3 separate regions of the Homo sapiens genome follow, and all the other regions are linked to region 2. Evidence: promoter capture Hi-C in 16 types of primary human blood cells and fetal thymus (Javierre and others, 2016). All regions are on one chromosome and are shown on one strand. The core of a region is centred on a gene start or on the middle of the fragment in contact, and the rest is flanking DNA. Distances in the headings are between cores, read along the strand shown.

Evidence for each region. The method cuts DNA at HindIII sites, captures the fragments that hold promoters and counts their contacts. A CHiCAGO score of 5 or more calls a contact.
Region 1: a fragment that was not itself captured here is called in contact with the fragment with the promoter of KPNB1 in region 2 in 1 of 17 cell types (erythroblasts); the score reaches 5.5 in erythroblasts.
Region 3: a contact is called between a fragment that was not itself captured here and the fragment with the promoter of KPNB1 in region 2, in 2 of 17 cell types (erythroblasts and megakaryocytes). The highest score is 7.4, in erythroblasts.

The regions. Positions count from the first base shown.
Region 1 is chr17:47,080,237-47,084,241 of GRCh38, reverse strand. All of the region lies in intron 1 of LOC101927060 (a long non-coding RNA gene), which reads left to right. Among named protein-coding and RNA genes, the nearest start is that of RPRML, 100 kb to the right of the region's middle. The HindIII fragment of the contact is 5,157 bases long and covers 1-4,005 here.
Region 2 is chr17:47,647,811-47,652,229 of GRCh38, reverse strand. It overlaps KPNB1 (karyopherin subunit beta 1), which reads right to left and starts at 2,311. Exons shown (of 22, transcript NM_002265.6): 1 at 1,946-2,311; 2 at 1,786-1,844. The coding sequence starts at 1,985. It overlaps KPNB1-DT (KPNB1 divergent transcript), which reads left to right and starts at 2,802. Exons shown (of 4, transcript NR_171700.1): 1 at 2,802-2,834. RefSeq lists silencers at 1,291-1,340, 1,641-1,780, 1,891-1,960, 2,391-2,570, 2,581-2,630 and 1 more and an enhancer at 3,311-4,156. The HindIII fragment of the contact is 6,441 bases long and covers 597-4,419 here.
Region 3 is chr17:47,131,865-47,135,838 of GRCh38, reverse strand. CDC27 (cell division cycle 27) reads left to right here. Exons shown (of 19, transcript NM_001256.6): 15 at 3,465-3,582. It also overlaps the pseudogene LOC112268192. Among named protein-coding and RNA genes, the nearest start is that of CDC27, 55 kb to the left of the region's middle. The HindIII fragment of the contact is 4,591 bases long and covers 163-3,974 here.

The DNA.
Region 1 (4,005 bases), core at 304-2,803, 570 kb after region 2:
ACATAATTGATAATACTTTATCACAGTGGTTGATTTGAATGGTTTATGTTTGGTCCATACAAAAGTTAAAATACCATTGCTATCCTTGGTCTTAATTATTATGGTATGATTAAGTTTTAATTTACGTCTTACCCTGTTGCGGTCAGATTTGTTCTTTTTTATTTTTGACATTTTGTATTTTGCCCCTATGGGAGACTGTGTTCAAGTTCACCTATAGTCACAAGTTTTAGTAGTGAGTGTGTGTATCCTGATGGGAAGTGGGGCTGAGGGCTGTGTGACTGCTGCTGCTTTCTGGGAAAACAGTTTTGTGGTGGATTATGAAGTATTTTGATTACGGAATACAGTAGACACCATGTAACCCCAGTCTTAATATTTAAAGAATGTTAATGTTGTCACATTTCTATCTTTTGTTTTTACATGAGAAGTCAAACATTACATTATAAGTAGAGCTAAAATCCAACCTCTCCATCCCCTTTCCAGAGCTAATGAGGAGCTTGATTGTAAATTTGTTGTATATCAGCTCTGTGCATTTTAAAATATATTCATCCCTTATCTGTATTGGTAACAATGCTTATTAATGTTTATCTGTTTATTATTTTTGTTTTCATTCAGCTTTTGCATTCCTCATTTCTGAGATTAGGTCATGTTGATACATACAGTAATTAAATTGCTAGATAGTATTTCGTCAAATTCCTTTACTACTTGTGTGTACTTAATCTTGTTTAGTATTTTTTTATTGTTTCATTCAACAATATGTTCTGAGATTGAGTCATGTTGATACATATAGTTAATTTTATTTTTATTACTATAGAAAGATCTGTTAAATGAATATAGTCTATTTACCAACTTCAACAGAATTATAATATAATTAGTTTTTAGCTGTTAGAGACTCTACTCCAGTGAACCTGTTTCCTCATTCAGAGGAATGTATAGTTTATGTTCTCAGAAACAGAATTTCATGGCTGGGCATAGTGGCTCATGTCTTTGGGAGGCCAAAGGTCAGGAGTTTGAGGGCAACCTGGACACCGCAGCAAGACCCCATCTCTACAAAATTTTTTATTAAAAATTAACCAGGGCCGGGTGCAGTGGCTCATGCCTGCACTTTGGGAGGCTGAGGTGGGCGGATCACCTGAGGTCAGGAGTTTGAGACCAGCCTGACCAACATGGAGAAACCCCGTCTCTACTAAAAATACAAAATTAGCCGCGTGTGGTGGTGCATGCCTGTAATCCCAGCTACTCAGGAGGCTGAGGCAGGAGAATTGCTTGAACCCAGGAGACGGAGGTTGCAAAGAGCCGAGATTGTGCCATTGCACTCCAGCCTGGGCAAGAAGAGCGAAACTCGGTCTCAAAAAAAAAAAAAAAAAAAAATTAGCCAGGTACAGTAGTATGCTCCTGATCCTAGCTGCTTGGGAGACTGAGGTGGGAGGATAGCTTAAGCAAAGGAACGCTAGGTTACAGTGAGCTATGATTGCACCACCATAATCCAGCCTCAATGATAGAGTGTGAGACCCTGCCTCTCAGAAAAGGAGAAACAAACAAAAGAAAAATGAAATAGAATATCATGATGATTGGGTATGCACATTTTACGCCTAGCCAAGTACTTCCAAATTATTGTTCAAAAATGGTGTTGCCAGTTTTAACTGTTACCAGCAATGTATGAATTGTACTTATCCATTTCTCACCACCTGTTGGCTTTATCGGACTACGTGTTTTCCCATCCAGATTTGAAACAGCATCTTAATGTTTTACCTAATATTTACATTTTAACTAAATTTTAATGAGATGACACATTTCTATATATTTATTAATTATTTGCCTTTTATGTGAATTTTCTATTTCTATTAAGATTGTCATTTTTTCTTTTGACCTGTTTCTTTTTTTTTTGAGACAGAGTTTTGCTCTTCTTGCCCAGGCTGGAGTGCAATGGCATGATGTTGGCTCACCACAACCTCCACTTCCTGGGTTCAAGTGATTCTCCTGCCTCAGCCTCCTGTGTAGCTGGGATTACAGGCATGCTCCACCACGACCGACTAATTTTGCATTTTTAGTAGAGACGGGATTTCTCCATGTTGTTCATGTTGGTTTCGAACTCCCAACCTCAGGTGATCTGCCTGCCTCCGCCTCCCAAAGTGCTGGGATTACAGGTTGTGAGCCACTATGCCCGGCCTCTCTTAATCTATTTCTGAGAGTTCTGTTACATATTCTGATGTTTAATCTTCAGTTATATGTATTAGATATCTTCCACCAAAGTACAGTTTGCCTTTTAATTTTATTAGATTTTCTATTGCATGTTGAAAAGTAGGTGATATTTTTGTGTCTTATCTAAGAAATACTTCCTGCTCTAAGTCCCGAAGATGTTCTTTTAAGTTTGGCTGTTCATGTTTAGCAATTTGAAGTGCCAAAATTTTGTAATTATATCATGAAGAAGGGAACTAATTTTACTTTTTCCTTCTAAAGAACTGGCCAGTTTAGTACTATTGAATAGTTTCATTTTTTCCCCACTGATCTGATTAAAAGAAAATTTCCCGGTATCTTTTATGTATCTAGTTCTACGTTTTGAGGCTCTCTACAGTTTTGCAGCAAATCTGGCTATCTGGTAATGTGTATTTGCATCATGCCTTCTTCCAAATTTCTTGCTGTTGGTCCTTTATGTCATGTGAACTTTTGGATCTGTTTCTCAGCTTTCATTAAAAATACTGTAGGCAATTTGACTGGAATTTCTTTGAATTTATAGATGTTCATGAGAATCACCATCCTTAAAAAATGTATCCTACCATTTGTATAGAGCTTCATGCTTTCAGGCATTACTGTTTTCTCTATAAAGATTTTAAATATATCATTAGTTTTGTCGTTGTTATGAATGATACTTAAAAAATGAATATTTTCTACTTTTTTATTAGTTTTCAAATATTCTTTACTGAACACTTTTGCTAAATTCTTTATTAGTTTTAATAGTTCTTATTGTCAGTTGGATTTCCTGTATAGATTATTCTTAATATATGTTTTATTTTAACATGGACAATATTTTTATCTCTAGAGAAATTAATGCAATTTCAGAGAAACCGTGTGCCGCAGGATCAGGATGGTAGAAGGCAGTTCCACTTAATTTGGGAAATACCTATTTGAAAGTTTATATCCATGTGCATCCTGAGGAGTGGGGGGTATCTGTCTCTGTCTGTTTTGGGTTTTTCTTGACACTAGAGTTAGTCTCTGCAAGGGCCTTTAGAAGTTAAATTCCACCCTCCACCCCCAAGTCTGGTATAGATATTACTACTACTCTTGGACTTCACTCAATTTATTTCTTTTTAGGAGACACAGGTCAGAATGGAGATGGGCTGCAGACCGGGCAGCTATTGTCAGCTGCTGGAACTGGCTTCAGGCTCATGTTTCTGACTTGGAATATCAAATTCGTCAGCAAACAGACATTTACAAACAGATATGTGCTAATAAGGGATAGGTGTCTGGTGTTTTTTAGTACAGCTGAAAACTATCATTATTGCTTTTCTCCCATCCCCTCCCACCTCTTTGGTAATCCCCTCCCCATAACCCCCTTTTTAACTATTTCAAGACAAGTGGTTTAATGACCTGATATAGTGGTTTAATTTGTTTAAGAACCTGATGGGATCACACGTGGTGGCTCACTCTGGTAATCCCAGCACTTTGGGAGGCCAAGGCAGGAGGATCATTTGAGCTCAGGAGTTCGAGACCAGCCTGGGCAACATAGTGAGACCTTGTGTTTACAAAAAATACAAAAATTAGCTGAGCATGATGGCACGTGCCTGTAGTCCCAGCTACTGAGGAGGCTGAAGTGGGAGGATCACTTGAGCCCATGAAGTGGAGGTTGCAGTGAGCCAAGATTGTGCCACCACACTCCAGCCTGGGCAACTAAGACCTTGTCTCATTAAAAGGAAAACACTATTAGAATATAATGGTTAATTGAACGTGTATTTAGAACAAAACAGTGTGGGTATCTGAGTTAACAGGAAACAAGAAAAATGCTGTATA
Region 2 (4,419 bases), core at 1,062-3,561:
TCCCAAAAGAATGATCCAACTTTCCATCTCATGGCAGCAGCAGGGTAGCTTTTCAATCCATGGAAGGAGGTGATCTTTTATGAGAGGGGGAAATACAGATAAGCCTAAAACAAACTTAGGAGCCTCATCCTCCGTTTTATTTGTGGGCACTCAGCAAAAAGGGAACAATGAAAAAAGCAGATTTATAAGGAAAAGTGATAAGATATTTAGAAATAGGGAAAAAGTGAAAGAAAAAATCTTCAGGCAAGCTGTTCAAGCAAAATAACTTTGTATCTAATGATCAACAATTACTTGCTCCTTTACATTTGGACTTTAGTTGAGGAATACAGTGGATCCCTGAAAAGCATGTTCTTTTGTAACCTTTTGTAATCCACAGGCCTCAAAAACTACTCCCTTTGTTTAAAAATTTAGCACACACACACCTCTCCACCAAAAACCGTGCCCAAACAGCAAAGTTAGCAGGAAAAGTCAAAAGCAGACACATTTTTCTTACTGCTAACAAGCTCTGCAATCACAGCAGAAGATAATTCTTAAAAGTTTTATTAATTATGTACCACTAAAGAATGTTAAGAATGTTAGGAATAAGATAAAAAGCTTTTTGCAAAATTTGCAAAAGCAGAAACAGGAATAATACCCTAAATGGAATTATCAGCCTATACTAGTGGAAAAATCTCTTCTAGGAAAGGATAAACAGGTTAGTTGTAAAAATTGGCACATATGAAAAACAACAAAAAAATCATTCAAAGGCAGTCTGTATAAAATAAGCCTTGTCACTTTGTTGATGTTGACATTTTGCCTATATAACACAAAGGAACACATATGGTTAGTGTTACTCAGACTTAATTCCTATTACCTTTCTCAAAGATGTCAAGCATCATCCAATCCTTCCCTCTGACCCCATCCCCCAACAGGAGATGGACACCAAAGAGAAACTTAACTGGCATCTAGGCTGTTTCAACCAATCCATCCCACATTTTTATACAAAGGACCAGTCTCTAGCGGACTTAGCTTCATTTTCTCCGGACCCCTTAAATTTTAAAATATGAAAAACGAGGAACTTTCCCCTGTGATTTCATCAGCAAACAGGCCCCATCTCAAAGATGAGCCTCAGTCTGTTTTCTGGGTGCAGATCCCTAGTGATTAGGTCTCTATTCATCCAGGTCAGAAGAAAAAAAAAAAAGAAAGAAAGAAAAAGAAAAAACCCCAAGAGAGGAATAACCGAGCAAAGAGGGAAAAATATCAGTGGAAATGGGTTAAGAGGCAGTCGGGTGCCAGGCCTGGCCATGAGTACAGACCAAGGTAGCTAGGAAAGGGCAGAGCTCTAGGAAATAGGTGGGGAGAGCCACAGGGGCCACGGGATAGGAAGGAGAAGCCGGCCGGGGTCAGACAGGGCGGGCGGCCGGGCCCGGAGCTTCCACATGGCCCCTAGGCCCGACTCCCCCGCCCCCACCCCTGCTGAACACGCAGCGCCGCGCAACCTAACTTCCCTTCCCTCCCTCTTTCTCCCTCCCGCTGCACCGCCGCCCTCAGGCCGCGCAACGATTGGGCGGCAGGCAGCTCGGCGCGCCAAGCCATTGGCCAGTCGCGAGGCCCGGGGCGGGACACACCCACCGGCTTCCCGATGGCGGGGTTAGGTTGGACCGGGTTGGGGGGGGAGGGGGAGGGGGGAGGGGGACGGGATGGGGCGGGGTAGGTTCCCGAGGCCTGGGCCTCCGGGAGGGCGGGAAGGCCCCGCACGCAGGGGATGGGGACGCGGCGGGATGGGCGCGGCGGGGTAGCACGCACCAGGTTCTCCACGGCCGCACGCTCCAGGAACTTCTGCGCCGCTTCCAGCTCCAGCCGATCTAGGGGGAGGAAAGTGGGAGACGGAGCGGGGTCAGAGGGGCCGGGCCTCCCCTCCCCCACCCCAATCACCTCAGCCCTACCCCCGGCTCCTGCGTCCTACCGGGAGACACGGTCTTCTCGAGAATGGTGATCAGCTCCATGGCGGAGGTGGCGGCGGCGGCGACTCCTCCTAAGACGACGGCCCGGCCTTTCGGGCGGCGGCTCGAACTGGGGATGGGGGTTGGGGGTCGGGTGGGAAGGGAGGGTGGGGTGGGGGGCGGGGGTCACCACAAACCCATTCACCGGCTCTGTCTGGGTAGTCGGTCCGGCTCCCCTTCCTCTCCTCTTCCCTTACTTCCTCCCTCCAAATGGGCTGCTGGCGGCGGGGGAGGGACCCTGGGGGCAGCTCAGAGCGCGCTGGTGCTCGGGAGGCGGAGGGAGAAAGAAGGAAGGGAGGCTGTGAGTGAGAGGCGGCGCGCAGGGAGGGAGCGAGGGAGGGAGGAAGGCGGAGGGATATTCGGACCGGACCTCTCCGCGGAGGCGCCGCGCTCCACGACGATTGGCCGTTGTCCTGGCCACGCGGAATCCCTAACTGGCCAGGCGCTCAGCGTCGAAGGGCCGTCTCGCGCCCATTCGCCTGCTGGTTTCAAGGCCCGGGTTGGCTGGGCGGGCAGCGGAATGGAGCGCGCGGATTGGCCGAGGGGAGGGAGATTGGGATGGGGTAGGAGAGAGCCCGCCGTTGATTGGGTGGGCTTGGTAAAGGCCTTGAGCTCAGACCGGCTGAGCGCTGGGAGGAGGGTGGACCGGAGGCACGACTCGGATCCTGCGCGATTGGCTGGGATAGTAGGCGTTGATAGGATAGGGTGCCCGGGAGAACTAAGGAGAGGAGTTCGGGGTCGGGGCGCGGGAAGGCGGGAGGTGCCCGGCAACCCTAGGAGCCCGGCGCGGGGCACGATGGGACGCCCCCGGGAAGAGGCGGAGCTGGGTTCGAGCGCTGGGGCTGCGGTTGGGTAAGCGCCGTCGCTCCGAGGGGCGTGTTGCGCGAGGTTTTCGCGGGCCTGAGCGGGGGAGGGGGGACTGTTGAAGTCCTGCGCCGCGCCCACAGGAAGCTGCTTTAATGGCTAGGTCGGCTTGGTACCCTGCTTTCGGCTGGGAGGGATCCGTAAGGCCATGTGGCTCCACTGCCAATGTGTAGATGTGGAAACTGAAGCCCAGAGAGGGTATGGAACTTGTCCAAGGTCACACAGCTGGTTAATGGCTTGGTAAGGAATGGGTTCAGGAGCCCAGAGAGGGTCTGGAACTTGTCCAAGGTCACACAGCTGGTTAGTGGCTTGATAAGCTCAAGCTCTCCTGACGGCCCTTGTCCCTACAAGCAGCTTCCTCTCCAAGGAGTCCCCTAAGCCTGCTTATATGGGGCTTGAGACCTGTGCTGTGATAAATCTGACTTGCTTAGGGGTGAGCTAAGGGATTCCTCCTCTTAGACCCCCCATCCATAGCTACCAGGTACTTGACAGGATGGAAATGTTTCACCCTCCAAAAGTACCCTGTAAAGGCCCAACCTCGAACCAGAAAGAATGTGTGTACAGGAATAAAGGATTGTGGTTCTTAACCTGTTTCAGTTCTCAACCCCGGAAGAAACTCATGAATGCCTTTTCTTAGCAAAATGCATATAAAGAAAACGTGGGCCGGGCGCTGTGGCTCGCGCCTGTAATCCCAGCACTTTGGGAGGCCGAGGGGGGCGGATGACGAGTCAAGAGATCGAGACCATCCTGGCCAACATGGTGAAACCCCGTCTCTACTAAAATATAAAAAATTAGCCCGGTGTGGTGGCGCGTACCTGAAGTCCAAGCTATTCCTGAGGCTGAGGCAGGAGAATCGCTTGAACCCTGGACGCAGAGGTTGCAGTGAGCCGATATCGCGCCACTGCAGTCCAGCCTGGCGACAGAGCGAGACTCCATCTCAAAGAAAAGAAAAAAAATGTGCATACAGTATGTGGCTCAGGCCTGCAATCCCAGGACTTTGGGAGGATCGCTTGAGCCCAGGGGTTCAAGACTAACCTGGACAACTTAGCGAGATCCTGTCTCTTTTAAAAAAAATGAAGATTTTTAAAATGATAAAGGAAAAGTGTAATAATAGGGCCGGGCGCGGTGGCTCATGCCTGTAATCCCAGCACTTTGGGAGGCCGAGGCGGGCGGATCACTTGAGGTCAGGAGTTCAAGACCAGTCTGGCCAACATGGTGAAACCCTGTCTCTACTAAAAATACAAAAAAAAAAAAAAAACCTAGCCGAGCGTGGTGGCGCACGCCTATAATCTCAGCTCCTCAGGAGGCTGAGACAGAATCTCTTGAACCCGGGAGGCAGAGGTTGCAGTGAGCCAAGACTTCACCACTGCACTTCAGCCTGGGCGACAGTTAAGACTCTCAAAAAAAGAAAAAATAAATGGTAACAAAGAATTTCTTGAATTGTTTCATTTTCACAGTAATGATGTAGGGGTAATTGGATGTAGCTGGTTCATAGAGCTTTTTACCATATGACTTGAGCTTGTGAGGTAATTGCCCTGCAGTAGCCACACTGGGAAAACCTAGGAGGAAGTCT
Region 3 (3,974 bases), core at 1,209-3,708, 520 kb after region 2:
CTTGTGTTGTTTTTGATTTTTTCCCAAGTCTGGTTGATCCTTGTGTTGTTTTTTTTTTAAATGTGTATTGTCTGTTCAGCTATTTTGCAGGAGTTGCATTCTTAAAAAACTTAACCATATCAAAAATTGTGTTTAAAGGAGGATTATTCAGATTGGCAAGCTTTTACTAGGAGGAGTTTAAATGCTGACGTATTTAGGTAACTAAATACTGAGCAACTTTATTCTAAGTACAAAATAGATAGCCTTTCTTTTGTTTTCACTTTCACTATCATTAGCATAGTGTTTAATACCTTTTCTTCATCTATAACACAAGTATAATGATATATAAAGCCACTCAAATAAAGCAGATATGTTGTGCTTTTTTCTTATTCATTTGATGCTTATTCCCCATCATCATCATCATCATCATCATCATCATCATCATCATCATCTAGTTATGGCCATGAGAAGTCTCCGTAATATAAACCATCCACACTATATTCATTTGACATTTTGAAAATTCAGGAGAAATACCTGCATATTAACCTAATACACTATTACATAGCCTTTAGAAATTGTAATTTTGAGGTCTATAAGTATAGGAGCATGCTTTTGATAACAGTAAGTGGGGGACAAGGAAGCCAAACATGACACTATGTATGCTATAATTATAATAATATAAAACAGAAATGTGGGAATAGCATTGTTAGGAGTTCAGCCTTTAGAATCATTAAGGAAGAACCTGGTTAGAATCTTTATTAGCTGTATAACTTTAAGCAAGTTATTTAACTTCTCTAAGTTTCAGTTTCCTTATTCGAAATAAGGATGATAATGGTACCTATGATTCCTCTAGGGATTAAATGAGATAATTTAGCAATGGTCTTGGCACACATGTAATAACTACTCAGTAAAAATTAGCTGTTAAATCTAGAATATGACAGGTATGGTGGCTCATACCTATAAGCCCAGCACTTTAGGAAGCTGAAGCTGGAAGATTACTTGAGACCAGGAGTTTGAGACCAGCCTGGTCAACATAGCAAGACCCCTTCCCTAACAAAAAAAAAAAAAAAAAAAGAAAACAATTAAGGCCGGGCACGGTGGCTCACGCCTGTAATCCCAGCACTTTGGGAGGCTGAGATGGGCGAATCATGAGGTCAAGAGATCAAGACCATCCTGGCCAACATGGTGAAACCCCGCCTCTACTAAAAATACAAAAATTAGCTGGGTGTGGTGATGCGTGCCTGTAGTCCCAGCTGCTTGGGAGACTGAGGCAGGAAAACCACTTGAACCTGGGAGGTGGAGGTTGTGCCACTGCACTCCAGCATGGCAACAGAGTGAGACTCCATCTCAAAAACAAAACAAAACAAAACAAAACAAAAAAAAAACAATTAGGCATGGTGGTGTATGCCTGTAGTCCTAACTACTCAGGAGGCTGAGGTGGGAGGATTGCGTGAGCCTAAGAGTTCAAGGTTACCTGCAGTGAGCTATGATCACGCCATTGCACTCCAGCCCGGGCGACAGAGCAAGACGTTGAATTAAAAAAAAAAAAAAAATCTATATGGGTTTAGGGGTGTGGTTTCTTTTTTCCTTATTATCATAGTTTGATTTGATTTGATTTGATTGTTTTTGCTTGTAAAAGTGACTCTTTAAAATGTTTTAATGGTCTGGGCATGGTGGCTCATGCCTGTAATCCTAGCGTTTGGGAGGCCAAGGTGGGAGGATTGTTTGAGGCTAAGAGTTTGAAACCAGCTTGGTCAACATAGTGAGACCTCGTCTCCACAAAAAATTAAAAATATGTTAATATAAGAAGGCTGGGGGTGGTAGCTCACACCTGCAATCCCGGCACTTTGGTAGGCTGGGACAAGCAGATCACTTAAGGCCAGGAGTTCAAGACCAGCCTGGCCAACATGGGGAAACCTCGTCTCTACTAAAAATACAAGAAAATTAGCTGGGCGTGGTGACACATGCCTGTAATCCCAGCTACTTGGGAGGCTGAGGCACGAAAATCGCTTGAACCCAGGAGGCAGAGGTTGCAGTGAGCTGAGATTGCACCACTGCACTCCAACCTGGGTGACAAAAAGCAAGACTGTCTCAAAAAAGAAAAAAAATATATGTAGGCCAGGTGTGGTGGCTCATGCCTGTAATCCCACCACTTTGGGAGGCCGAGGCCGAGGCGGGCGGATCACCTGAGTCGGGAGTTCGAGACCAGCCTGACCAACATGGAGAAACCCTGTCTTTACTAAAAATACAAAATTAGCTGGGTGTGGTGGCGCATGCCTGTAATCCCAGCTACTCGGAAGGCTGAGGCAGGAGAAACGCTTGAACCTGGGAGGCGGAGGTTGTGGTGAGCTGTGATCATGCCATTGCACTACAGCCTGGGCAACAAGAGCGAAACTCCGTCTCAAAAAAAAAACAAAAAAACAGCTTGGCACCATGACTCACACCTGTAGTCCCAGCACTTTGGGAGGCCAAGGCGGGCGGATCACCTGAGGTCAGGAGTTCAAGACCAGCCTGACCAACATGGAGAAACCCCGTCTCTGCTAAAAATACAAAATTAGCCGGGCGTGATGGTGCATGCCTGTAATCCCCAGCTACTCGGGAGGCTGAGGCAGGAGAATTGCTTGAACCTGTGGGTGGAGGTTGTGGTGAGCCGAGATTGCACCATTGCACTCCAGCCTGGGCAACAAGAGCAAAACTCTGTCTCAAAAAAATACATATATATTATATATATATATATATATATATATATATATGTATATTTGTGTGTGTGTGTTTGTGTGTGTGTGTGTGTGTGTGTATATGTATGTGTGTGTGTGTGTGTGTGTGTGTGTATATATATATATATATATATATATATATATATATATATATGCGCCTGGGCAACATGGCAAAACCCCATCTCTACAAAAAATACAAAAATTAGCCATGCCTGGTGGCGTGCACCTGTAGTTGCAGCTACTCAGGATGCTGAGGTGGGAGGATTGATCACTTGAGCCTGGGAGGTCAAGGCTGCAGTGAGCCGTGATTGAGCCACTGCACTCCAGCCTAGGCAACAGAGTGAGGTGCTATCTTTAAAATATAATAATAATAATAATAATAATAATAATAATAATAATAAACTGCTTTAATGGCTAGGCATTGTGGTTCATGCCTGTAGTCTCAGCTACTCTGGAGGCTGAGGCTGGAGGATTCTTTGAACCCGGAAGTTCAAGGATGCAGTGAGCTATGATTGGCCCACTGCACTCCAGCCTGGGTGACAGAGTGAGACCCTAATTCAAAAAAAAATTTTTTTATTTAAAAATAAGTAAATAAAATGCTTTAATGATTTTTATCATAACTGGTATTTTTTGCCTCTCCTCTAAGACCACCAGTATTCCACTGGATTATTAAAATGCCAGATTCTATACTTGTTCTTTTACTAATTGAACTAAATTAGCAACCTAAACTTTATATTTTTAAAATTATACTTTGTTTTATACTTTCAGGTATGGTTTAGGAATGATTTATTACAAGCAAGAAAAATTCAGCCTTGCAGAAATGCATTTCCAAAAAGCGCTTGATATCAACCCTCAAAGTTCAGTTTTACTTTGCCACATTGGAGTAGTAAGTAGCTTTCTAAACATTAATACTCTATTAATCTCCCTTTTGAAATATGTTTGTTATTGATTTAATTGCTGTGATAAAAATTGGTCCTTTTTTGTGTTGAAACAGTATTCTGGAGCCTATTACACCCAAAAATACTACCCATTTGGCTTAGCATAAAAAATCACAGAATTGCCCTTATCCCTTGCACAAGTCACTTCATTGCTCTGAGCTTTTATTTTATGAATGTCATGTACTACTTGCTTACCTCATAGGGTTGTTCTGTGACTCAAGTAAGATATCTCCTGGCCAGTTGCAGTGGCTCATGCCTGTAATGCCAGCGCTTTAGGAGGCCGAGGCAGGTGAATCACTTAAGGTCAGGAGTTGGAGACCAGCCTGGGCAACATAGCGAG